Regions from separate parts of the Homo sapiens genome. Here all the other regions are linked to region 1. Evidence: promoter capture Hi-C in 16 types of primary human blood cells and fetal thymus (Javierre and others, 2016). All regions are on one chromosome and are shown on one strand. The core of a region is centred on a gene start or on the middle of the fragment in contact, and the rest is flanking DNA. Distances in the headings are between cores, read along the strand shown. Region 1 holds the start of TMEM213 (transmembrane protein 213). Region 2 overlaps LOC124901752 (a long non-coding RNA gene). Region 3 overlaps AKR1D1 (aldo-keto reductase family 1 member D1). Region 4 holds the start of CREB3L2-AS1 (CREB3L2 antisense RNA 1). Region 5 overlaps LOC107986749 (a long non-coding RNA gene). Region 6 holds the start of LOC124901753 (a long non-coding RNA gene). Region 7 overlaps AKR1D1 (aldo-keto reductase family 1 member D1).

Region 1 (4,089 bases), core at 1,110-3,609:
TAACTGACAATAAGAAGAGAGATGACCTCTAAGTCCATACTGTTCAATACGGCAGCCACTAGCCACCTGTGGTTGTTTAAATTTATTAAAATCAAATTCAGTAAAAAAAACTCAGCTTCTTGTTTACATTAGACCCATGCCAAGGGTTCCATTGCCGCGTGTGACTAGTGGCTACCATATTGGAAGCACCACTCAGACATGGGACATTTCCACCCTCAGTGCAAGTTCTATTATTAGACAGTGCTCATGCTGACCTAGGTAGATGGAAACCAAGAGATGGATTGGAAGAACCTTCCTAGAAATTATATTGCTGTTCGTTCTGCTTCTTGGGGAATGCAAAAAGGAAAAAAAAAAAAGTGGTGGGCATGGAAACTCTCAAGGTTCCCCTGGCTGTGGGTCAGTGTGTCCTTCAAGGGAGCTTGTTGTCACAGCAGGACGAGTTCAGAAGAAACCTGCTGTTTAGCTAAAGCCATGAAGTTGCTGCTGAGACTAATTTTATGCCACCCAACCCCCAAGCCACTCCAATGTCCTGCTTAAAGTATAGTAATTGCCTCGATGCAATCTGTTACTGTAAATTATTTACAGCTAAATGGCTTAGAGCCTGGTCTTTATTTGTTTTGGAGAAACTGATTCCTCACTATTCTAATTTTCCTTATGACTCAAATAACTTCCTTGGCCCTGACTTTCATTTCACCTCTACACCTAGAATGGAAGTTGTCCTCTTCCAAAGTGAGTGGAAAAAAACCCTAGTTGGCTGAATGCTAGGGTTAGGTTCGAGCTTATGAAATTGCCATTGTTATAGGTGAAAATTGTTCAATATCAGCAATTTTCTGTGGTTCAAATGGAATAGCCCCGGTGAAAATTCCTAAGAATTTAAACATCGCCCTCCTCCCTTATAAGCAGAGCCAGAAGCGAGGGAGGGACTGGCCCTACTTGGGGCTATTCCACAAGAAAAGCTGCTGGGAAGACCCAACGATTCAGTGCAGTTAAACTTGTCTTCTGATTCTGAGCTCCCATCATAAGCAAGGCACTGTCGGGGTAAGTAGAAAGAAACTCAGCACTCTTATTTGGGGAGGGGTGAAGTTGGAAAATAAAATGAATGTGCTTACCATAATTGCTGACATTCACTGTGTGTGTTCTATGGGCTATTTCTAAGTTCTTTACATGAAATTACATCAATTCGTCTTGACAAGCACTATGATTGTCCCCATGAGATAAAGGAGGAAACTTGGCATAGAGAGGTAAAGTCATTTGCTCGAGGTCGCATAGCTAGTGAGTCATGGAAGCTGGACCTGGGTTCAGGCTCAGCGGCTCAAGAGTGCACGTCTTGAACCTCAACACCAACACCCCTGGCAGTGGCTACAGAAGAGAGTCTGAGGATGAGAGGGGCAGACACAGGACTTTGGGGGCAGGGTTGGTTTTGGGAGCAGGAGTGTTGCAGGGCATAGAGAGTGTGGTGGTGTTCTGAGGTGGCTGAGAACAAGATCAAAGCCAGGAGCAGAAGATGGTAACCAAGGTCCCTCTGCCGTGAGTTGCAGAACCCGGCCTGGCAGGGCAAGGCAGGGGATGTAGATCAGCCTTCCAGCCTCCACAGGAAAATGGGGAGATAACCCAGCATTTCCAGTGCCCGGGGAGGCAGGAGGGTGGGAGACAGTGAATGGCAGCCCTCCTGGCAGTCAGGTTTTGTGAAAGTCGCAGAGAAAGTACAAGGGGCAGGGAGGGATGGAGGACTTAGGAAAGGGAAGGTCAGACACAAATGTGCACAGGGAGGATTGCAAAGCACGACAGCCCAGTGGGGCTGAGAAGGAGCCTTCAGGACACAGCGGACCAAGAGATATCATTTTGGTCCCCTGATGGGTGAGACTCCAGCAAATAACTTTTTCCTTTCTTTGTGGCAAAGGCCAAGAGAGGTGGCTGCTCCTGCCTTAGCTGAGGAATTGAGTATCTGATCTCCGTCTCAGGCCAACCTAAGACCCCCCCTGCCCCAGCCCCACCTCCCACCCCCTGCCTAATCCTTCAGATGAGAAAGTTCTGTTTCCTCCTTCCTTTGCGCAGGACCAACCCTGGCCAAAGAATCTTCCCCCTCCTCCTTCTTTCCCTCCCACCTCTCTTCCCTCCTTCCCTCCCCCTTCCCAGCCTGGCCATGAATAAAGCTCATAACGCTACCTGCCGAGCAAGCCGAGTGGAGGGAGGCAAAGGCCAGGCTGAGGATCAGGGTGGCCCGGGTGGCAGCGGGGAGGCGCTGCATGCTGGAGGCTGTGCTGAGTGCCCGGTGCAGGTGAGCCGGTCCTGCGGAGTTGTGCCGAGTGCCTGCTGCAGGTGAGTCGACTCCCACCTGCAGGAGCTGGAAAGCAACTCTGCCAGAGGTGAACTTATGCTGGGTGTTTGGGGGAAACACCATGGGGTGGAGCAAAGGAAACTTGGCCTGTCACACCTTCTCTCACCTCTCTAGAAGGGAAGCCAAACCGTTGGCTGAGGAAGGAAGGGAGGGGCAAGCTGTGCCCTTCTCCCCTGAGCGCAAATATTGTCCTTATTGAGAAACAAGGGGAGGACAAGAGAGATCTGTGTCATGCTGGTTCCTGGGACATGAGTTTGCTGCCTCTCCCATCTGCAGGTGTAGCATGGATGCTCAATTCCATTTGGGCCAATATTCACTGAGCACCCACTATGCTGAAGTTGGGAGATACCTGCTGTCGAAGTGCGTTAATTACAAACACGCATCATTCAACCCCAGAACCGTGTTTGAGGAATGGCTTGGGAGGATAAAGCACTGTGGGTTTCAACAGTGGAGGCCACATCTGCTGATGGGATGCTTCAAGAAGAAAATGGCATTTGAGGTTGGGCATGGGGGCTCACCCTGTAGTCCCAGCACTCTGGGAGGCTGAGGCAGGTGGATCACTTGAAGTCAGGAGTTCAAGACCAGCCTGGCCAAAATGGTGAAACCCCATCTCTAATAAAAATACAAAAATTAGCCAGGTGTGGTGGTGCATGCCTGTAGTCCCAGCCACTTGGGAAGCTGAGGCAGGAAAATCGCTTGAACCCGGAAGACAGAGGTTGCAGTAAGCTGAGATGCTCCTGACCCTGCATTCCAGCTTGGCCGACAGAGGGAGACTCCATCTCCAAAAAAAAAAAAAAAAAAAAAAAGAAAATGGCATTTGGCCTGGGCCTTGAAGGATGGCTAGAATTTTGACAGGGGGAGAGGGGAAGATGGCATTATAGGTAGAGGGACAGATGAGCAAAGGTCCAGAGGTAAGGAAGTGTCAGAGGGTGGCTGTACCAGCAGCACCCAGAAGCGCAGGTGAGCCAAGGCATGTGAGGTGGGGAGGCAAGAGGAGAGCTGTGGGCTAAGCTTCTGCGTGCCTGGTAGAGGAATTTGAAACAAAGTCAGGAAGCAAAGGGGAAGGTTCTGTAGAGATTTTGAGCTGAGGAGTAACTTGACTAGAGCTCTGCATTCCGTCTAAAACATTTATTGAAGACCCACATGTATATAAAAGGTCTCATCCTAGGCACTGGAGACTGAGATGACTGAGACACGCCTCTTCCCCTTGAGAGCACAGTGCAGCAGGGAACCAAACCCGGAAGAAAGAAATTTGATGCAACCTGGCAAGACTCAAATAGGGGTACCTTCCACTGTGATGGGAATAAAAAGGAGGATGGGATGAACTCTGCCTGAGAGGTATAGGGGAAGGATTCACAGAGAAAGTGACATTTGGGCTGGGTGCTGAAGTTTGTATGTGCAGATTAGAGTTGATGGGCTTTTCAAGTCAAAGGAATAGCACCTATAAAGGCGAGGGAATCGTCTGTGTGCACACAGCCTGCCATGTGTGGAAGTGTTCCTGCGCATGAATGGGCCTGGTAAGGGTGAGGGGTGGACTCCAGCTCTGTGGAAAGACATAGAAGGCGTGAGTAAGCCCCAAGGAAAGATTTCCTAGTGGAGTGTAACAGCCCAGGGGAGGCACTTTTTTCTAATTGGCTCTAAGATATAAAATAGTGGTGGCCTATGTTCCTGGATTTGGGGATAGGGCCAACGTGCCCTAGGAAGGGTGATTTTCAGTCAGTGCACAGAAGTCCAGTTTAGGCATTACCACT
Region 2 (3,682 bases), core at 220-2,719, 780 kb after region 1:
CTCGGGAGGCTGAGGTGGGAGGATTGCTTGAGCTCAGGAGGTGGAGATTGCAGTGATCCAAGATTGTACCATTGCACTGCAGCCTGGGTGACAGAGGGAGACCCTGTCAAAAAAAAAAAAAAAAAGCTTCATTAAACCTTATAAAGAAATCTATCCAATTTTAATTAGTTGACCATAAGGTAAAATTCCCATAAACCTTTTATAAGCCTTTACAATATTTTGTTAAAGAAAAAATCAATGCTCCAAGAATACCCTGTTATCCAGACACATGGGCCCAGATTCTGGCTCTGAATTAGGTGTGGCTTTATTTTAATACTGAATTTACAGACGAATTGAAAAATATCCTTCAAATTTTAGCCAACTTGCTCATACTCACAGAACTTCCTTTACAAGATCAATCTTTCACAATTTACAGCTTGTTTAAACCTTCAGTTTTCTCCCGTTATTCTTTTAGGTTAGGACAATCCTTAAAACCTTCTGAATTAGACAAAATTACATTGGCCGGGTACAGTGGCTCACAACTGTAATCCCAGCAATTTGGGAGGCCAAGGTGGGAGGATTGCTTGAGGCTAGGAGTTCGAGACAAGCCTGGGCAACATAGGGAGACCTCATCTCTACAAAAAAATTTTAAAAAATTAGCCAGATGTGGTGGCACACGTCTGTAGTCCTAGTTGCACATGGAGCTGAAGTTGGAGGATGGCTTGAGCCAGGGAGGTCGAGACTGCAGTGAGCCATGATCATGCCACTGCACTCCAGCCTGGGTAACAAAGCGAGATCCTGTCTCAAGAAAAATAAAACCGAAAAAACCCCTAAATATTCCCTTTAACAAAGGCCATACTTCCATGCCTTCTTATAACCTCTTACCAAAAGTACGCTCTACTTTCCTTATAGACCTTGTGTGTTAAACTGTTTCTCTAGTAGTTTCAAGTACATGTCACAGTGTTAACTCTTTGCAACTTTTATTTTTGGCAAAAGACCTGGTAAGTAAGTAAGTAAGTAACTGCGTACGGGATTGTAGAGCTCAGGAGTAAGACAGAGCTGCAGACAGTGTCTGACTCTTCCCAGCCTAAATCCTATCTAAAATCTGTTAGCTGTAAAGCGGACAAGTCAAATGATTATCAAAAATGTCGGCCGGGCGTGGTGGCTCACGCCTGTAATCCCAGCACTTTGGGAGACTGAGGCAAGCAGATCACCTGAGGTCAGAGTTCGAGACCAGCGTGACCAAGATGGAGAAACCCTGTCTCCACTAAAACTACAAAATTAGCCGAGCGTGGTGGTGCATGCCTGTAATCCCAGCTACTTGGGAGGCTGAGGCAGGAGATTCACTTGAAGCCGGGAGGTGGAGGCTGTGGTGAGCCAAGATCACACCATTGCACTCTATCCTGGGCAACAAGAGTGAAACTCTGTCACAAAAGAAAAAAAAATTGTCATAGAAGCAGTTTATGACATTAAAGCATCTAGCAGACAGTATCTGACCTGCCTAATTTAGACCAAATGTATAAATTTTGAAGACATCTTTTATTTTACCAATAATCTTGAAAACTATATTTATTTACCAAAGATTACTAAAGTCATGTGAACTAAAAGGCATTAAATTGCCTATTCTACTGACAAAATATTTGATTTAAGCACTTGTTTTTCTTTAAGTCAAATAATTAGAGCTCTTTTATATAAACTTCACATACACAATACATATAAATACACAGACAGACAGAAGATGATCTGGTAGTTTGAAGACTTTTCATTTGCCAGATTTTAAGTTTCTTCATTGGATTACTGGCTTCAGGGTGGAGCCCTTTGAGGAACAGGGCCGAGAAAGCGTGGAGTTTCTAGGGCCTAACATTTAATCGTGTGAAAAACAGGCATCACTGGAAAGCAGAACAGATTTCCAAAAACCAAGGATTCCATTTTCACACCGAATCCTGAGTCCCCCAAAATTGAAGGAAATGATACAGGAAAAGACAGTACAATGGTTTCACTGGTGCATTTCACTCCAAGGACATTCTCCCGAGGCTGACGGGCAAACCAAAGCCAATCAGGCCATTTTATAATCGGCACATCCCCCATTCCATGCCTTCTAGGTGCCAATAGAGCATGTTTTTCTTCTTGTTTAAATGCGAGAAGAAAGAAATACCAGCCTGTAGTAACGCCCACTCACTGTAAGCAAGTGCCATTAGCCATCCCTAAAAATATATTTGTTACCTAGCTATTACACACCAAGGCTGAAAGTTCTACTGTAATGCAGAGTAATTTCTGATGCCCCTAAAAGTCAAAAAGCTCAGGTAACACAATGCAAAACGGAACAGAGCCTTAGATTTTGATAGGGATCTTTCTACTCACAATTCTTGGAGTTCCATGAGGAAAACAGAGGCTTCTCCTGAAACGGTGTCCGCAGTGCCTCCTCTGTTTCTCCCAAGGAGTCCCAGCCTATCAGAAATTACCTTAGGCCCTCTCATGTGAGCATTGAGGGTAGCATGAAGACAGACAGAGTTCAGTTGACTGAATATATGTATATATCTATCATATATAAATTATTATATAAAAATATATAAAAATTATATATGTTATATTATATGATTGTATATTATATATACTTATATAATATGTATATAATACATATCAGCATTTAGTTAGGCTGACTTTTAATGATAGAGCTTTTTTTTCTAAAAAAAAACAAAAAACAAAAATCTTTTAAAATCCCTTATTACCAGATTCTAGGTGGGAAAAACAGCTGACACCTCTGGCCTTTAGGCTTTTGTTTTTTGTTTTTTGTTTTCCAAAGATATTCTCCCAAGTGAAACCAATAAGCTTTAATTAAGGTTACAGCTTAAGCATGGATGTATGAGGTATCTCCAAAGAGATGGCAAACAGTTTTCACAAGATCTAGAATTCTCTGTAGGGTAGCTCAGAGAAAAGAAAATTCAAGACAGGAAACCAGAAGCTGTCCATGGAGGTGGAAAAGAATCAACAAATGGTAAGTCCCGTAACTATCAACCAGAAAGGACTTACTTCCAAAGGCAGGAGTTGAACCTAGGCTGTCAATGTGAAAGAGCAAAGCCTTAGCTACTGAGTTAGCACAAGGTGATTGCTATTGCTTTTTCCAGGAGTCTAGAGCAGTCACTGTTGAGCTTGCAAAGGATTTTAACCATTCAAGAGAATTAAGGCTAGACATGACATTATGTTGTGTCCTTTTTAGGGCTAAGGAGTCAAAGCCCTATAACTTAACAGCAGAAGTACTTTAAAGGTAATACAGAAAGTTACATGGATGCAATAACCTTGTCAAATCCAGAATTTGAATTAACTTTTAGATAACTTTCGAATTAGATGAAAGTATTCTTTTTCTCAATAAGAACACATCTTCTTTGGCACATTTTATGTAAACCTGGGAAGCAATAAATCCTGAACTGCCTATCAGATATTAGCATTTTATAGATGCAATATTAGCATTTTATAGATGCAATATTAGCATTTTATAGTTCACAATTTTGGAACATATTTCCCATATAATAAAACTTTCTTGAGTGGAAATGATCCAAATATTCAATAAGCATTCAAAATGGGCTAGGCGCGGTAGCTCACGCCTGTCATCCCAGCACTTTGGGAGGCCAAGGCAGACAGATTGCTTGAGCTCAGGAGTTCGAGACCAGACTGGGCAACATGGCAAGACCTTGTCTCTTCCAAA
Region 3 (3,645 bases), core at 759-3,258, 710 kb after region 1:
CTAAGTGTGCAGTGTTTATAAAGTCTCCAGTCATGTACAGTAATGACCTAGGCCTTCACATTCACTCACCACTTACTCCGTGACTCATCCAATTTTTATCCTGCAAGCTCCATTCATGGTAAGTGCCAGGTATAGGTGTATCTTATCTTTTATGCCATATTTTTACTGTACCTTTTCTATGTTATGTTTATATACACAAATATTTACCATTGTGTTACCATCGTCTACAGTATTCAGAATAGTAACATGCTGTGCAGGTTTATAGCCTAGGAGCAATCGGCTGGGCTATCTAGCCTAAGTCTGTAATAGGCTATACCATTTAGGCACAACGTGTTTGCGTTTTATTCATGTTATTACAAAAGTAATGCAGTCTACCATGGTAAATAAAACCTTACCACCTCGGTTTGTGTAAGTACACTCTATATGATGTTTGCAGAACAACAAAGTCACCTCATGACACATTTCTCAGAATGTATCCCATTGCTAAGCAACACATAATTGTACACTGGGTCTTTCTAAATTTTTAAGACTTAGGTTAGAAATCTGACATTTGAACAAGAGTCAGCATTAACAAAGTGAGGATGAGGGCGGAGATTGTGACTGTGTGAGTGGGAAGAAGGGTGTGTGTCTCAATGGTGGGCTACAGTTAGAGGACTACATGTTGGTTTGATGCAGAGAGCTTAAACTATAGTTGTAAAAACATGGTATAATAGAAATTGCATTGAATTAAAAAATCAAGAAACTTGGAAACCAAGCCTGAGTCTGCTAACATAATCTTCTCGGGTATTTGTCAGACTAGGTCAGTACTCTCTGATCTGTGGTAACAAAACACCACAATATTCTGTGGTGCCAAGTAATACGCTAGCTTCATGCACATAGCTATTGGCTCATGGTGCAGAGCTTCATGCACATAGCTATTGGCTCATGGTGCAGAGCTTCATGCACATAGCTATTGGCTCATGGTGCAGAGCTTCATGCACATAGCTATTGGCTCATGGTTGCCAGGGTGCAGAGACCTGACCTTTGGGCATCTGAACTCACCTTAAAGGCCATGGGTACTTCAATGATGTAAAGATCCACATAATCTAGCTGGAGGACCCTGAGTGTCCTCTCCAGGGTTGGGCGGACCATCTCTGGGACATGATTTGTAGCCCATAGCTGAAAGAATCAAAGAGGGAGAATTAACTAATGTCTACACGCTTTTTACGATAAGGCAGCCCCTTTTTCTTTGTAAAACACTCGTACACATTTTTTTTTTTTGAGATGGGGGGTCTCACTATGTTGCCCAGGCTGGTCTTTAACTCCTGGGCTCAAGCGATCTGCCCACTTCAGCCTCCCAAAGTGCTGGGATTATAAGCATCAGCCACCGTGCCTAGCCGCTTGTACACATTTTATTCACACATTTCATTTCACAAAAATATGTTTATGATGCAGTGTCATCTGAGTATAGGATGAGCTGATAAAACTCTTGACACTCAGAGCCTAGCTTGAGAGCTTGTTTGGAGGTTCTAGTAGGGGAGTGCAGCTACTCACATACACTTGACCTAAAAACCCTCCTCCTTCATCAGGGAAAGCCGTCCTCTTCCACTGAGAGTGCAGCTTCAAGAGGTACAATTGCCTAGACAGCCAGATCAGCTGAATTAGCCCTGGTGACTAATGGGGTGACATATGTTACAGCCAGATCACCCTCACATCTCCAGACATAATTTTATGCAAATCTACCACAAGAGACTTACAGATCCTCCTTGACCACAGAGTACCTAATTTGATGGCAGTCTTCCCCATTTCCGGGTGAATTTCCTGATGCTTAGTGCTTGCATTTTTCCTCATTGTATAACTAGGGTTACACAATGTTCTAGATGTCCTGACCTAGCGTGATACTTTATTGTCATGCCACTCTGATAAAATGAGCAAGGAATATGGTTATGCGTGTGGCTTCACTGGGTCCTTCACATTGTGACAGGTGGTGTGAAAGCCTGGTGAAATTTTAAATTAGTGCATAGATTTAGATTTGCTTTCACTGATCTTTTGTTCTTATTTGGTCCTACTTAGACCCCAGAGCAATTAAATTACTCTTTCGCTAAGGCATTACATAATGAAGGATCAAGGTTTGGTTGATCCTACTGGAGCATGTGTACCCTTAAGTGTCTGAGACATACGGTGCCAAGGTTGCTTATACCCACAGGACAAATTAGTACATCTTTTGGAATATCAGTTTTGCTCACAGATTTTTTTGGGGGGATATAAGTTTAGAATCATACTTTTCTTTTTTCTTTTTTTTTTTTTTTTGAGACGGGGTCTTGCTGTGTTGCTGAGGCTGGAGCGCAGTGGCTTGATCTTGGCTTAGTGCAACCTCTGCCTCCCGGGTTCAAGCGATTCTGCTGCCTCAGCCTCCCAAGTAGCTGGGATTACAGGCACCTGCTACCACGCCTGGCTAATTTTTGTATTTTTAGTAGAGATGGGGTTTCACCATGTTGGCCAGTCTGGTCTCGAACTTCTGACCTCAAGTGATCCTTCCTCCTCTGCCTTCCAAAGTGCTGGGATTACAGGCTTGAGCCACTGCACCCGGCCTGAATCATACTTTTTTTGGTCACAAGAAAGGGTAAGCAAAATTGGTAATATCTGATTTTTTCCTCTGTTGGACAATGATTTTTTTCTTGCCTTAAAAACACAGAGAAAATTTAACATGAAGAGAGTAGTGGAAAAATGTGTTACGTGTGTTTTGATTGCTACTCTGGGTCTCTTTGGTGTTCCTATTGCAATCCCATCTAAGTGGAAATTCTGTTTGATATTTATTTTACTTTCTTTTTCATTCCTGGGCATAGGCTGATGATATTTTAATTTACTTTTATTCAACAAACATACATAGTATTAGCTTTGTGCCAGGTTCGGTGTGAGTGCTTTGTAAATGTGAACTCATAACAACTTTATGAAATAGTTGACATTATTATCCCCATTTTACAGAGAAAAAAAATTGAGGTCCAGAAATGCTAGGCAACTCAGCCAATAGTGACAGATCTGGGCCTCTGACCTGGGCAACCTTGCACCAGTCTAGGCTCTTAATCACCCCCACATTGCCTCTCAGGTGCTGCTGAGCTGCAGTGAAGACAGTCCTGATGAGGCAATAGCAATGGCACATTACATGAACTCAGCTGCACACACTGTTTCTGTTTACGTAAGTAAACACCAATATTTCGCCCAAGTATGCTTTATTACATACAGCCCATATTGACATTGTATACGTATAAATATTGCTTTCTATTCACAACTGTACTTTTTGGACAATTTAAAGGATTAAAGTTAAAGGACAATTTAAAGCATGTTTTGACCACCTTTTCCTTGTATGCTAACTTTAGCCTCTATCATAGTAAGAAATGACTCCTATAATATGAGTCATTAAGCAAAAGGCTTGCATAATGTGCCTGCCCAGGAAGCCTACATAGCTGGCTTTTGGATTGGTGACCTTATGAGCTTGTTTTTTTTTTTTTTTAATTTACGTTTGTTTGCTTTTATTAAACAAAATCTGAATACCATGTCTGAGTTAATTACATTTGCTCAAATGCTTTTTTTTTTTTGAGAGAGGGTCTCGCTGTGTCACTCAGGTTGGAGTGCAGTGATATGAACATGACTCATTGCAGCTTTGAC
Region 4 (3,849 bases), core at 570-3,069, 840 kb after region 1:
CGTATCTGTAACCACTTATAAAAAGGTCAGCCTGGTGAGAATTAGGGGTCAAGAGAGTGATTGGTTTATCATGGTCATTCATTATTTACTTTTAAATGTAGGTTAACGTGGTGGGAGAATGGTGTCTCTACCAGTGGCTCTGTCCAGGGAACTTTAGAGTTTTATGTTAAATAAGAACCCAGACTCTGGCAGTTACAGGACCTGGTTTCTTGGGTCTGGGTTCTCAGTCACTGGGAGTCTTGAGTGACTAATTACACTTGTGCTTAGGCAACGTTTGTAGTCTTCTTTCTATTCCTTTGTAGGTTGGGCAGTTGTTCCGACTTCTGTGGGACTGAGAGATATCCCAGGATGTGGAACTTTACAACCAGAAAAGTCTGAGGCAACTGGGGCAGCTGGTCTTCCTACTTTCTAGCCTCCATGCCTTCCTCTTCTCCTCTTACCTCCTCTCTCATGGCCAGACAATACCATGAGCATTCCAAACTCTTTAGGCTGCTGTTACAGATAAACTTTACATGTGGTGGACCTGGGGAGTTTGGCAACACAAAGTTATTCATTTTAAAAAATAGGAGTGCTCCTAGGGTAGTTTGGACGCAAGCATAAGCTGCCTTTATAGAGCTTAAATGTGTGCTGCCTGCAGTGCTCCTGATGATTTCTTTGTGGTTCTTTCCTTTTTGCTAAAAGTTTTCTGAAAATAGAAAGCCGTGGCCATTATAGTTAGAACAGGGAGCAAACAGGAACCTCTGAGAGGATCCCTAGCCCCCTGCCCCCTGCCTGGGTCCACCCCTACTTCTGGGTAGCTATCTGCTGTCACCACCTGCAAGAGCAAGAGTATTTGTAAGCTGTGGATTATGTCCCTAGGATTACTAGTCTTTCTTTTTCAGGAAAAATAATACACAATTCAAGCCAAATGTAAACAAGCACTAAGATCCTACACTTTTGTTCTCGGTGATCATTAAATGCTGTGGGTCATTTCACAATTTCAGTTGTCATTTTAGTTATCCCTCATGCGTAGACAGGACAGGTACAACCTGTATCTCAAGGTCAAAGGGCAGGACTCTACTTATGTTTGTGGAACTTCAGAATACCAGACAGAAACCCATGCAGAGAGGTAGCCTCTCAAGATTTTGATCTTGTCTCCTCCGTGAAGAATGACATGAAGAATTTCTCTTTCCCTGTGATTCATCAGGAGAGTGCTGTTTATTCTTCCAGGTTTACAGCTCACACACCCCTGCTGCTTTTCCCTCCTGGAGAGGTTACAGGACCTTGTGATCTTACTGGGCTGTGTGAAAAACCCATGATGATGCCTTTCCCTTCTGCAGATCTTTGTTTGACCGTCTGTTTTAAGTGCCCCTTTTTCTCTTGGTTATCTAGCTGCCAGCTGTTTACAAACTAGTTTGCATCAAGCGGTTGCCTAGAAACCATCATGAAAACAGGATTAGGCAAAGCATTTTTTCTATATTACAGCTGCTTTCTGATGAAGGCTTGGCATTAGAAAGAGCTCAGTGTCTACCCCTTCCCAGCCTTAAAACACAATGCAAGTGAAACAAGGACTTTCCAACAGAGATGAAATGATTTCTCTAGAGTCACATTCTGAGACCGTCATCACCCACCCAACTCTCCCCTCCTCTGCAAACCCGCATACCTTTCCCTTTCAGGAGAGTCGTGTGTTGGGGATGGTTGACGCTTTTTAAAGAACATTTAACATACACCAACAGCAGGTCTCAGATACTGTTATTTATCCATCTATTCCTCAGGCCTCAGCTAGACTGGAGTGGGTGCAGAGAAGTTAGAAGGCTCTGGCAGTAATTTGGTCATAAGGAAGGAATGTGTTATGTGGAGTAGCAGTTAATCAACTAAGCGGTAAGCAGGTTTTCAGTGAAACACCACCGGGAGCTAATCCCACTTAACATAAACTACAGTGACTTAGAGGGAACAAACTGTCTAACCCTGAGCTCTCTTGTTTCCCAGGAAATAAATCAGGATGAAGTCAAGAGACATCAAGGAGTTTACATTAAAAGGTCTTACTAAGTGATTGAAATATTCTTAAACTGGCTGGGCACAGCGGCTCATGCCTTTCATCCCAATACTTTGGGAGGCCGAGGCAGGCAGATCACTTGAGGTCAGGAGTTCGAGACCAGCCTGGCCAACATGGTGAAACCCTGTCTCTACGAAAAATACAAAAATTATCCAGGCGTGGTGGCAGGCGCCTGTAATCCAGCTACGTTAGAGGCTGAGGCAGGAGAATCGCTGGAACCCGGGAGGCGGAGGTTGTAGTGAGCCAAGATCACGCCACTGCACTCCAGCCTAGTTGACAAGAGTGAGAGAGAGAGACCCCGTCTAAAAAAAACAAAAACAAAAACAATTATTCTTAAACTCCTCCTGGAGTAGGATAGATAGGTAAATAAGTGATTATATCTGGATTTGGGGTCAAAGGAGAAAGAGGAATCAGGAAAAACTTAAGAGTTAGTAAGTCAGCAAATACTTACTGAGCACTTCCTTCTAGGTGTGGTAGAGTTGGGGTGGGGTAGGTAGGGTGGCTGTCAAACACTGAGCAAGACAGACAGTCCCTGTATATTCTAGTGCAAAGGCGGGAAAGCAGGGGCCAGATCATAAAAACTGGAACAGATAAATCAGTAAGCTAATTTCACAGACTGGCAAATGCAGTGAAGATGACAAAATGGGACCTGTGGCTACCGTAGGGGTCATGGACACTGTTTCTCTAAGGTGACATTTGAGTTGAAAGGCTGAGAGCCTGAGGGCTGGGCGGGGATATCCTCTCAGCCATGGGGAAGTTGGGAAGGAGGCTGAGTATGTGGAAGAGATGGTTAATAGAAATCAAACACAAGGAGAACCTTCAAAGTCAGATGATAAATCAGGTCCATACTAGGAAGATCTTTTCCAAGTTTCCCAGAAAAGTAAATCAAACCTCACCAGGCCTCTAGATGGTTTTAATTACCTTTTTGTAGGGCTGCTGAACAGGGTATTAGTCATATACTTGACAATAAGGACTTGTGGATTTTTCTCAGAGATATTAATGGATGGGAGTAAATTTGCATTTGAAATTTTATTTTTAAATTACGAAAATAACATATTACCAAAGTTAGAGAAATAAGAAAAGAAAAACTCTTATGTTCCCACTATCCTACCAGCCCTATTGTCTATTTTGTATATTTCTTGAAGACTAGGTCTCACTCTGTCACCCAGGTTATAGTGCAGTGGCGTGATCCTGACTCACTAGAGCCTCCACCTCCTGGGCTTAAGCGATCCTCCCACCTCAGCCTCCTAAGTAGCTGGGACTGCAGCTGTGCACCACCACGCCCAGCTAATTAAAACATTTTTTTTGGTAGAGACAGAGTCTCCCTATGTTGCCCAGACTGGTCTCGTCTCGAACTCCTGGGTTCAAGCAGTCCTTCTGCCTCACCTCCCAGAGTGCAGGGGTTACAGGCATGAGCCACCATGTCTGGCCTGTTTTGTGTGTTTCTTACAGTCTTTTTCATGTATATGATTTTAGATAGTTAATACATTGCCCTTTGAATGCATGACAGACATTTCGCCAATAATTCCTTGAGCTTATATACCATACTTATACATTTCAATAAGTACAATCAATTCTTGTTATTTGCAGTGGTTATGGTCTCTTAAGTCACTGTGAACACTGAACTAGCAAATACTAACCCTTTGCTGCTAAGGGAAATAGAGGATTAGGTTCTTGCGGGTGTCTGATTACATTTTTATCACTAATCAGTATATAACCTTGTTTTATGTGTGCTTCTGTTTAAAGACACCATACTTAATGTATCAATATATTGTTGGTTTATTAACATTGAGCTACAGCCAAGAGTGCTATCA
Region 5 (3,832 bases), core at 1,133-3,632, 630 kb after region 1:
TCTCAAATGTTCCTCTCAAAGTCAAATAGTGAGTCTTACCTTTTATAATTACAGAAATACAGATGTTGCCACAAGTCAGACAGGGAAATACAAAACAATATCCCAGAGAAATCACCATGGGAAAAATGAAGGTGTCTGTACATTAGATTATCTTTACGTTTACTTTAAAATGCTTCAGCATGGATAGTGTGGTGTGATGTGTTCTAGTTGCTTTCATTCTTTACTTAGGAATAGTTAGTTGGGCATTTGAAGAGCCCTGACTGAAACTGGCTTTGCAAAAGTATGACAGAGAAATTGGACGTGGCTGACTGCATCTTGCTTCTAGCCTCACAGGCTGGCTGGCTTTGCTCATTCGTGGGTGTGGGCCAAGATAACTTTGGGAGAAACTTAGTTTATAGTTTAAATGATAATAACCTTCCCCCAAAACTAAACGATTCTTGTAAAACTAATGAAAGGCCATGAAGTTAGGAGGATGAGAGGGGCTTAAATTCTAAATAATTACCAGCCATTATTATGGAGGTCGTAAGATTTGCAACTTCCCCAATTACTCTTGCAGACAACATCACTATTGTAGAAACTAAGACTGGCCTTTTGAGATGTCTTTTCAGGTTTTTGCATTTCTGACAATGGATGGCCCCACCTGGACCTGCCAACCAGTCCTGTGGCCCCAACCCAGGAACTTACCCACCATAAGAGGGCAGCTTTGATTCCCTATGATTTCATCTCTGACCCAACCAATCAGTATGCCCCTACCTTAGGCCCCTGCTCATCAAAAGATCCTGGGAAAAACCCTAATCTTTGAGCCTTTGGGGAGATTGAGTTGAGTGATAACAGTCTCCTGTGTGGTGTGGCCAGCCTTGTGTCAATCAAACTCTTTTCTTTACTGCAATGGCATGGTCTCAGAGAGTTGATTTTGTGTGTGCAGCAGGCAAGGAGAACCCATCAGGGAGTTACATAATTTGGATATATGGGTGAAGGAAGTCCTCTCCTCCATTCTGAAGATTTGAGGCTGAAAGTCTGGGGAAATAAGCTGGCAATAGACAGATTAAAAGGAGAAAAAAATATATATATACATTTTATTAACATGCAGAAAGGCATCACATGGAAGTTAAGAAACTACCCAATAACTCAATGAGACCTAAAAGCTTTTATATTCCCTTCATAAGAGAGAGGGAAGGGGAGTATGTAGGCAACCTAGGGAGAGTAAATGATTATGAAAAGTACGAATCAGCCTTCAGAAGAATAGGTTATATCCTGTCTGTAGGAGGTGCTAACCTCCAGCTTTTTCTAGGTTTGACTTCTGTTGTGTGTTAATCTTCACGGATAGATAAAAATCCCCAGGAAGCATTTCTTGACAATTGGCTTCCTTCTGGAGAATCTGCACTTAGTCAGATAAGGGAAATTCAGGAAAAGCCCCTCTGTGCGTTTGGCATTTCCCAAATGACTTCAGTTTGAAGTAATCAGCATACCAATGCTGCATATTTTGGGGTGATATTTCTGAACTCTCTCAGGAAAAATATACTCCTGGATGGTAGGTTAATATTTGAAATTGTCAGTTCAGGCTTGGCTTGGTGGCTCACGCAGGTAATCCCGGGACTTTGTGAGGCCAAGGTGGGTGTGGATCACTTGAAGTCGGGAGTTCGAGACCAGCCTGGCCAACATGGCAAAACCCCGTCTCTACTAAAAATTCAAAAAAAGAATTAGCTAGGCATTGGGTTCATGTCTGTAATTTCAGCTACTTGGTGGGGGCTAAAGCAGGAGAATCGCTTGAAACTGGGAGGCAGAGGTTGCAGTGAGCCGGGATCGTGCCACTGCACTCCAGCCTCAGCAACAAAGTGAGGCTTCATCTCACACACAAAAAAAGAAATTCTCCATTCAGAAGCCACATTCCAGAAGGATTAGATTATGGCTCCAGTCGTCTTTATCTCATATCAATCCCAGGGGGTTTGTTAATTAGCATAAGGGATGTTAGAAATGATTTTTTACTGGTAAAATGAATTCAATTTTATGTGGATTGGATAAAAATGTCTTATGGATACTCTTGCCTTTGCATAAATGAGGTGTAAAAGTCCAGCTAGCCTGTCTATTCATTTTGAATTATGTCTCCAGGCTTGAAATTCTAGACTGTTTGAATTATCTCTCCAGGCTTGAAATTCTAGACTGTAGTGAGAGAATTTTTCACCTGACTCTCATTTGAGAGTTAGTTAATCCTGCTCCAAAGCTGGAACATGGTCCTCCTGTCTCTGACGCTCATAAGGTTCTGTGGGAACACTGAAAGGTCAGAGAGCTAAGACTTCATCAAGCTTATAAAACGGGTAGTATGACTATTTGGAGGGCCTGATTGCTAATACATATTTATACCCATGGCTGAATGAGGTCTGAAATTTGCTTTCATTATAACATACCATTTGGAATTGAAGTCTCTATGGTTGTCACCAAATTCTAATTACTGGAAGCTTTGGAGAGCTAATCATAAAGCAACTAATAAGGGTGTATGACCAAATTGGCTTAAGTATCTTGAAAACAGCATTGAAGCTACTTTTTTTTTTGAGATGGAGTTTTGCTGTTTCACCCAGGCTGGAGTAAAGTGGCACAATCTCAGCTCACTGCAACCTCCATCTGCTGGGTTCAAGCAATTCTCCTCAGCCTCCCAAGTAGCTGGGATTATAGGCACCCACCACCATGACCAGCTAATGTTTGTATTTTTAGTAAAGACAGGGTTTCACCATGTTGGCCAGGCTGGTCTCGAACTCCTGACCTCAGGTAATCCACCCCCTCCCCCGCCCTTGGCCTCCCAAAGTGCTAGGATTACAGGCATGAGCTACCGTGCCTGGCTGCAGCTACTTCTTTATATGATTCATGGCTTTTGGCCACAAATGCATGCAAGTAACTAGATGAATACGTATATTACTTGCATGTGCATTAAAATTATTTCTTCTTTTTCAAATTATTCCTTCTTTGCACCAGCTAGAATTTAAATATATCTACCTGATTCGGAGCATTTGGCAGAGATATTAGAGATGGAACAAGATCCAGAGAGGGTCTAATGAAATAATAATTGTGGTGGCACATGCCTGTAGTCCCAGCTACTTGGGAAGCTGAGTTTGGAGGATCACTTGAACCTGGGAGGCAGAGGTTGCAGTGAGCCCAGATTGCACCACTACACTCTAGCCTGGGTGACAGAGTGAGACCCTATCTCAAAAAAAAAAAAAAAAAAAAAAAAAAAAAAAAAAGAAAGAAGAAAGAAAAAACCTTAATAATAATTATATAATTATAATTATAGTAAAAGTAGCAAGTAGCTTTTTCCTTTTTGCAAAATTAATTCTACCTTTCAGCATGTACAAAAGTACATTCTAGAAAGATTAAAGAAATAGATATAAACACCATAAAAATCATGGAAGAAACACATAATATTTTAATCTTGGGGATAAGAAAATCATCTCAAGCAAGAAACACTTGAGAAAAAAATAATTTTTGCTCACTAATCTCTAGGTTCATGGCTGAGGCCCCTATAACAAAATACAGATTCACAAGAGAAAATCATACACATATTATTTATACGTGGTATGGAAGCCTTCATAAGGAAAGGAAGACCTCCCCCAAATGCATAAATTTGTATATTCTTTATGCTAGGTTTGATGAAGAAATATGATTGAACAAAGGGAGAATGATATCATTGAGAGAGGAAGGAGGAAGAAACCAGTCAGGCAGGCAGTTATGGTGGGTCCTTGGTTGAATCTTTTCAAACAAAAGAACAGCCAGAAAAATCAAGCTGCAGGCACAGATAAGGGAACTTGCACAGCGGCACTTGCCTAAGACATGCCCACAGCCA
Region 6 (3,811 bases), core at 1,167-3,666, 730 kb after region 1:
GAAGACTGTTCATCCACTGGACTAGATAACCAAACCCAGATCTCAAAAATGCGCTAAAAAATCCAGCAGAGTCTATTCTTGTACATATGTATTTGCACCAAGGTATGCAAATACATATGTAGATATGTATGTTTGTTCTGGCATAAACTCCCTCTTGGTTAGTGAAGAGGAAATCAAGATGAAATATGTTGTTATCCATTCAGACCCTGCGTAATGAATTTAAACTGTTTGATGCGTTTCCAGTGGTAGTGTACACATAAGGAATAGTATTTTGGTAGGGCATGGACTCAAAGGACAGTATAAACATTATGTATCTTCAAAACAGAGAACTAATCATTGGACCCTAATGCTGGACATATTTTCTGAGTGAAGTTAAATAATTCCTGCAGGATACAGTGACTCTGAAGAGAGCAACTGACCATTGCAGAGAGCGGAGCGGAGTTCCTGGGTTTAGTTAATGATCTAATAAGATGTATTTTGTAATGTGGAGGTAAAGTCCAATTTTTACAAGGTTGAAGGTTGGGACTCATAATGTGAGAGACATTTCAGTACTAGAAGAAATTTGTATAAGAACATCTATCTTGACAATATTTAAAGAAACATCTATGACATATGTTTCCCCCAGCGGGGTCAAATGGATATTGATCCACCAATCAGATTTACAGCAGTAACTAAGGTCTGAGAAAAATGTATAAGAATGTTTTCTTTCTCTTGAAATGCCACAAGAAAAGACCACAGAGGCTTAGAAGTTTAAAAAAAAATGTATAGGAGAACAGACTGAGAACTCTTGACCCAGTCACTGGAGAGCTTCAACATATGCTATTAGGCAAGATCCATAGTAAAAAAAATCAAAAGGAAAAGTGTATTAAATTATCTTAAAATTAATCTTGTTCCAGAGATTTTAGTAAAAGCTATCTAGTTTACATAATCATTAGCTTCAATGGAGGGTTTTGAATCAATTGTTACTTTAGAGGATTGTCTGCTTCTGGTAGAGTTCAAAGAATTCTCAGCTTGAGGTCTACCAGTGAAATGGAAGTCCCCTGATCTAGGAAAAAGGATGTATGTCTTTTGAACTGAAAATATGAATGCAGGGATTACTATCTTAGAGTCTCACCACAGTGTTAATTAGTAACAGTACCTGATACAGTCCTGTTAGTCAAAGCTCAAGGCAAATCTTCCTTTGCTTTCTCTTCCAGAAGACAAAATCTCCAGGTTTCAGGCTCAAAGATTGTGTAAATGGTTACTTTGAAAAGGCAGCTTGTATCCGTTTAATGATAAGATGTAGTATTTAGTTATGTCAACTTGCAGTGGGGCAAAGACTAGGATCAGAGCAAAATTCTGAAATGCATGGCATGGTCTGTTATTAACTCTTAAGGGGAGAGCCTATGTCATGAAGGTAAATGGAATACTGTAGGAACTTACATGTAAGTTCCAGTGACTCTTAGAACTTTGACAATTTTTAGTTTTAGTAATCCTTTATTTTCTCTACATTTTCCTGAAGATTGGGTATAAGAACAATACAGTTTTTGAGTAAAAGGAAAAGCATTCAAAGTCTTTAATGATGGTCTGGCAAGAAAAAGTCTCAATCCATCCTAAAAATAAGTAAAGAATGACCAAAGCTTGCTGGGAAATATTGATTGGACCAATAATTGCTCTTTCATTTTATGCTAACTGGCAGATCCACTTGAGGTTAGTTAACTCAGTTATCTGAAGTCAACTGACTTTTGAGAAAGGCTTATATGCCAAGAGTGAATTCGAATCAGTAATAGCATAGCTTGCCTGACAATCTCCAGCTTTTATGTTTAAGTATGAACTACCAATGAACATCATTCAATTAGGGTTATCAAAAGGTACATTAATTATTTTTATCAAGTGTTTGATTCCTGAAGGGATCCATAGGACCCAGTTTATACTTTATTACAGGCAACAAATAAAGCAATAGCAGGAGAAGAAAATGCATTGGGAGTGTCTAGAGATCTCAGGTGAAGACTTCCTTACTTTCACACCACATGGTTGTTCTGATTATGCTTTGTCTTCAGGTATTAAAACACCAGTGACCTGTGTGAGCACCTTGGTACCAGAAAGCCCAGAGCCTGCTCAAGGAGGGTGTGTCTTACAGTGAGCTAGTTGCATAGACATATTCCAATATGTGACCAGACTTAGTCCCTCAAGCTCCACCGAAACCAGTGGAAATTATAAATGCAATTATTAATACTAAATATTGCTGACAGGCTGGTACATGCTACCCTGAAAACAACTCACAGATCCATGGTTATGTAATATCATTTACCTTTAATTAATACATATTTAGTTAATACATTCCCTAGTATTGACAAGAGTCGATGTCATTCTCTAGGCAGTTCTGGAGATAAGCATTTGTCCTTATCTCCAAATAAGAAGGTCAATAGAGGTTAACCCCTGCCATACAAAGGGAATATACAAAGGTCTGTATAGGGCACTGACAATTTCCTAATACAGGTTAAATAATCAAGGCATTTTTCTTGCTTGAGTAGGGAAGGAGAGTTGTTGGGTCCAAGGTACTAAAGCTGTGGATAGTTATATATGAAGGAGAGACAAACAATGATGCCATAGTCTATCTCCAAGGCATTTAATTTATCCCATAAAGTGCATTGTAATTGTTTACAATTGACAAGAATATTTACATCTAAAATACTGGGAAAAAAGTCTTTTAATAGTTATTTTGGCAGTTGTTATTATTATATAACTATGATTAATAACTATTATTATATAACTATTATATACCTATTTAAACATAGGTATATTTCTTTTAACCTGAAAAGTACAAAACTGATGGGTACATATTTGTATTAATGTATTTTACTTATACATAATTAATCTGGAAAGGTGAACTTTTGCTGTGATTTATCAAGCTACCCGTCTTTCATCTTAAATTTTGCACAATAGTTTCAAATTGGTGAAAATTTGGAGAATGACAAATCTGATTATTTTTACTTATTTTTAAAATAAATCTTTGTGGTACCTAGGGAACCCTTCGAGAAATTTAATGATAGCTTAGTCATAAAAAGACATCTTCACTGAAAAGATTTTCCAAGCTGAGACATCTGTGAGTACTCACCAGACTCCAGCGTATAGTGATGCAATGCTGTGATTTACAGAGGAAAGACCGAGTGCAGCAGAAGAGTTCAGCCAAGCATTAGGGGTCAGAGAGATGGCATCCCAGGCTAAGCTTCCCAGCATCTGTATTCACACGCAGCACACCAAGTTTCCAGATTGAACCGCCAAGATCTGTGTGAGGAATACATTAGCTTAGGCTACAACTCAAAACCAAGCTTCCCAGCAGGAATTTTTCTCTCTTGAGCCACATAATCAAGCCTAGCTAACTCAGCTGGTTTGACCTGTTGCACATCATCAGTAAAGAAACTGACCTTGGGGGTGCGGGATCACCAGGGGGAGCTTTACCCTTTAACCAGCATATCATAAAACTGCCCTTATCTTGTCTGAGTGTCAAAATGTCATCCAGGAGACCTAGAGACAAAGAGTTTACAGGTGGAAAGTCCAGCTGTAAATTAACTGCATTGTCCATATCCTCTTATTTTTCTGAATTTGGGGCTTAAATTTGGGGAATGCAAAATGAAGAGTTTTCAGAGAAGAGGAGGTATAAAAACATGAGACAGTCTCTAGAGGCAGGTAATAGTTACCCAAATGTTTGTTCTCTCCAGGCAATATTTGAAAACACACCATAACAAGAAACAATAATTAGTAGAAACTTTTAATTCTTTTAAGCTGTGAGGGTTTTTTTGTTTTGTTTTGTTAAAATAATTTAAAAGCA
Region 7 (3,520 bases), core at 225-2,724, 690 kb after region 1:
TTTCCAAGGGCTAGGCATGGGAATTAGTGGCTGAAATATATAGGACAAGATTCTTATGGGAGAGGAAGTCAAAGAGCTGTCGGATAAGGGTGGAGAACGACTGGTGTGGATGTTGAATTCACTAAGAATTATGAGAGGAAGAGTGTTGGAGAAAGTGAAAGTGAGCCCAGAGATAACATCTTCAAAGAATGGAGGCCAGTGGATGATGGCAACAAAGCTGGACCACACCTGGTATAATTTCTTTTTTTTAAAATTTTAACTTTTAAAATATCCTGGCTCCGTATTAGCTTTCTTCATGTTTACCTTTAATTTTATCTAGTTTTTAAACTCATGGTTTTTTGTTTATTTGTTTTGAGACAAAGTTTCACTCTTGTCATCCAGGCTGGAGTGCTATGGTATGATCTCAGCTCACTGCAAACTCCGCATCCCTAGTTCAAGCGATTCTCCTGCCTCAGCCTCCTGAGCAGCTGGGATTACAGGCGCCCATGACCATGCCCGGCTAATTTTTGTATTTTTAGTAGAGATGGGGTTTTGCCATGTTGGCCAAGATGGTCTCAAACTCCAGACCTCAGGTGATCCACCTGCCTCAGCCTCCCAAGGTGCTGGGATTAGAGGAGTGAGCCACCGCACCCAGCCTAAACTGATGATTTAACTTAACTTTTTTTAATTTTAAAGCAATGGGATCTCGCTTTGTTGCCCAGGCTGCTCTCAAACTCCTGGTCTCAAGCAATCTTCCTGCCTCGGCCTCCCAAAGTGCTGGGATTACAGGTGTGAACCACTGTGCCCAGTCTTAACTTTTTACTACATAGTTTTTATTTTCTTTTGCTTTTCTTTTTTCATCAAAATATTTATTTTTCCCTTTATTCTTTATGCTTTATTGATCTTTGCCATTCTTTTAAAATATTTCTAACAGTTTATTTTACCTTCATTCTAAGAGAGCATAATTTATTATTTTGTTGCTCCTTGCTTTCATACCCAGCAAAATTCATGGTTATTGGGTGAGTCTATTCCCTAAAGAGTGAGAATTGGCTGTGATTTTCATTCTCATTTTCCTTCTAAATCTGTATCCGTTTTTTTCTTGGAATATGTGACCTCTGAGTTCCATTCTTTTATTATCAAGGCTATGGAAACATATGGAATATAACATAATTAGTTACAATGAAAATTTCAAGGAGAGTGGCATTTTCTCTGGTACAAAATTGCGATTTGCTAGATGCTATAAAGTCCAAATGCTTTCCATCGCAAAGGTCACTTGTAACACTCCTATAATTTTTGAACAGCAAAATTTTCAGTCCTCAAAAAGTCCATCAAAATGTGTTTTAATCTTCAATGAGCCTACACATTAGTAATGCAGTTGATCTCTTTCTAAGATTGTGGAAAAGAGTGTCAACCACTTTTTAGGATGAGGCATTTTGGCAAATGTTATTGTCAGGAGTTGATGTAACTATTCAGCATCTTTTCGCCTTTTTTCTTTTTACGAACTTTCCTTCCCCCTTCTAGTGGAGCTGTCTGTTAACTTCTTCAGCACAGGAATAGGGATATAGCCCTGGGGTCAGGGTATCCTACTCAGTGGCCACAGTGGGTAATATGAGGGTGACCTTCAGGAGCTAATCAGGGATTGATAGAGACCCTGATAGAAGACTTTGTTTCTGATCATCTTCACTCTTCACTGAGTATGAGTAATTGATTATCCTGGAGCTGTTAGGAATTGTCTGTGCCACCATGTGGGTGGAGAGAAAGGAGGGAGAGAGAGAGAGGACTAAATCTCTTTATAAATCATTTGAGTACCTGTGTCTAGCCATTTCTGATCTACTCATGGACTTTCCAGTTATGCAAGCCAATAAATTATCTTTTATTTTTTGCTAAAGTTTGAGTTGCATTCTATCATGTAGCAAAAAAGCTCTGAAGATGTAATTGTCTAATATTGTGGCTATCTTCCTATGTCAGTACTTGTATTTTTTAAATGGCTATATGATATTTCAGTGTACAAATATGTCATAGCTTGTTTTATAAAATCCTGTTGAAGATTGTTTTGAGTTTTTAAAAAATTACAAAGAATTCTATAATAAACATCTGTCTGTGTGTGTGCACCCATGTATATATGTGCAAATACATCTATAGGGTAAGACTGCTGAGTCAATGGATAAGTGTATTTGAATTTATTTAATTTGACAGATAACATTGTATGTTTTTATCATATACAACATGATGTTTTGACATACATATAAATTGTGGAGTGGTTAAATCTAGCTAATTAACAAATGCATTACCTCATATAGTTATCATTTTTGTGGTAAGAGCACATAAGATGCACTCTCTTTATGTTTTTCAAGAATACACTATATCATCATCAACTATAGACACCTTTTTGTACAATAGATCTCTTGACATTTGTTCCTTCTAACTGTAATCACAACTTTTTTGACCAACATCTCCTCATAGCACCCTCCCTTCAATAATCTCAGCCTCCGGTAACCACTATTCTACTCCTTACTTTTATGTGATTAACTTTTTTAGGTTCCACATATAAATAAATCATGTAACATGTACATTTGAATTTTGATGGACATGAAATAATTTAACCTACTCTTCCATATCTCATACAAATTAATGTTTCTAACAATAGTGTGTCAAAGCGCCTGTTTCCCCAAATATTACCAAGTATTTTGATTATTTTCTGATATGAAGGGACAACTAGTATCTTACTTTTTATTTATCTTTAATTATGAGTAGGGCTAAACAGGCAATTTACTTTTGAAATGTAAATTAGCTAATGGGTAATTAATTAATTTTGTATGGCACTTTTCTATGGTTGTGTTTACCTAGCAGTTTAGTCTTTAGTAGTAGCGGAATAAATGAATTACCCCTTTGTCTAGTTCTTTCTTCACTTGGAAGTTACAACGTAAGTCATAGATTACTTATAGAGGGAAGTAAAGGCAATTAGCATTCATGAAGTCTAAATGGTCCTCTTCAATAATTTTCAAATTTGTCCTCAACTTTTACCAGAGCCATTAAGAAGGTGGAAAGTTGACTATTATGAATTCCAAATTTTATTCACTCAATTTCTGTTGTGCTGGTAGAGAAGTGAGTAGGTAGTGTCAAGGGTCAATAGATAAGGGAAGAGGCTGGGTACAGTGGCTCACGCCTGTAATCCCAGAACTTTGGGAGGTCAAGGTGGAAGGATCGCTTGAAGACAGGAGTTCCAGACTAGCCTGGGCAATATAGCAAGACCCTATCTCTAAACAAACAAAAAAAAAATTTAAAACAAAAAATAAAAAGTAGATAAGGAAAGAGAAAATATAAGAGATCTGGATAGTGTACAAGTAGCAAAGCAATCTCTGAAGTACTAGCAATTGTCTCAAATTGAATGAAAATTAAACCTAGATATGGGCTACATGGGTCAAGGGGCTGGTATAAAATAAAATATGAGAGTGTTACAGGTTTCCTATTAAGCTGAACACATTCTATAAAAGCAAAAATAGCAAACATACCCATCTTTTCACATCTCCAAAAGCAATTC

What was found. Contacts are between HindIII fragments. The CHiCAGO score rates a contact against its expected background, and 5 or more counts as called.
Region 2: a fragment that was not itself captured here is called in contact with the fragment with the promoter of TMEM213 in region 1 in 1 of 17 cell types (erythroblasts); the score reaches 6.4 in erythroblasts.
Region 3: a contact is called between a fragment that was not itself captured here and the fragment with the promoter of TMEM213 in region 1, in 1 of 17 cell types (erythroblasts). The highest score is 5.8, in erythroblasts.
Region 4: a contact is called between the fragment with the promoter of CREB3L2-AS1 here and the fragment with the promoter of TMEM213 in region 1, in 1 of 17 cell types (fetal thymus). The highest score is 6.3, in fetal thymus.
Region 5: a fragment that was not itself captured here is called in contact with the fragment with the promoter of TMEM213 in region 1 in 2 of 17 cell types (total CD4 T cells and total CD8 T cells); the score reaches 5.3 in total CD4 T cells.
Region 6: a contact is called between a fragment that was not itself captured here and the fragment with the promoter of TMEM213 in region 1, in 1 of 17 cell types (erythroblasts). The highest score is 9.2, in erythroblasts.
Region 7: a fragment that was not itself captured here is called in contact with the fragment with the promoter of TMEM213 in region 1 in 1 of 17 cell types (erythroblasts); the score reaches 7.1 in erythroblasts.

What each region holds. Positions count from the first base shown.
Region 1 is chr7:138,796,264-138,800,352 of GRCh38, reverse strand. TMEM213 (transmembrane protein 213) reads right to left here and starts at 2,359. Exons shown (of 3, transcript NM_001085429.2): 1 at 2,167-2,359. The coding sequence starts at 2,248. ATP6V0A4 (ATPase H+ transporting V0 subunit a4) reads left to right here and starts at 2,157. Exons shown (of 22, transcript NM_020632.3): 1 at 2,157-2,319. RefSeq lists a silencer at 2,095-2,389. The HindIII fragment of the contact is 4,060 bases long and covers 1-3,351 here.
Region 2 is chr7:138,017,608-138,021,289 of GRCh38, reverse strand. It overlaps LOC124901752 (a long non-coding RNA gene), which reads right to left. Exons shown (of 3, transcript XR_007060551.1): 3 at 1-103. Among named protein-coding and RNA genes, the nearest start is that of CREB3L2, 17 kb to the right of the region's middle. The HindIII fragment of the contact is 2,682 bases long and covers 129-2,810 here.
Region 3 is chr7:138,089,281-138,092,925 of GRCh38, reverse strand. It overlaps AKR1D1 (aldo-keto reductase family 1 member D1), which reads right to left. Exons shown (of 9, transcript NM_005989.4): 3 at 1,042-1,158. It also overlaps the pseudogene RN7SKP223. Among named protein-coding and RNA genes, the nearest start is that of AKR1D1, 15 kb to the right of the region's middle. The HindIII fragment of the contact is 6,515 bases long and covers 1-3,645 here.
Region 4 is chr7:137,951,318-137,955,166 of GRCh38, reverse strand. CREB3L2-AS1 (CREB3L2 antisense RNA 1) reads right to left here and starts at 1,819. Exons shown (of 4, transcript NR_161346.1): 1 at 1,643-1,819. The region is part of intron 1 of CREB3L2 (cAMP responsive element binding protein 3 like 2); the gene reads left to right. The HindIII fragment of the contact is 9,042 bases long and covers 1-3,849 here.
Region 5 is chr7:138,164,954-138,168,785 of GRCh38, reverse strand. It overlaps LOC107986749 (a long non-coding RNA gene), which reads right to left. Exons shown (of 3, transcript XR_001745033.3): 3 at 3,301-3,832. Among named protein-coding and RNA genes, the nearest start is that of MIR4468, 43 kb to the right of the region's middle. RefSeq lists an enhancer at 3,772-3,832. The HindIII fragment of the contact is 153 bases long and covers 2,306-2,458 here.
Region 6 is chr7:138,064,602-138,068,412 of GRCh38, reverse strand. It overlaps LOC124901753 (a long non-coding RNA gene), which reads right to left and starts at 3,404. Exons shown (of 2, transcript XR_007060553.1): 1 at 3,098-3,404. The HindIII fragment of the contact is 1,589 bases long and covers 1,622-3,210 here.
Region 7 is chr7:138,107,587-138,111,106 of GRCh38, reverse strand. All of the region lies in intron 7 of AKR1D1 (aldo-keto reductase family 1 member D1), which reads right to left. Among named protein-coding and RNA genes, the nearest start is that of MIR4468, 14 kb to the left of the region's middle. The HindIII fragment of the contact is 4,177 bases long and covers 1-3,520 here.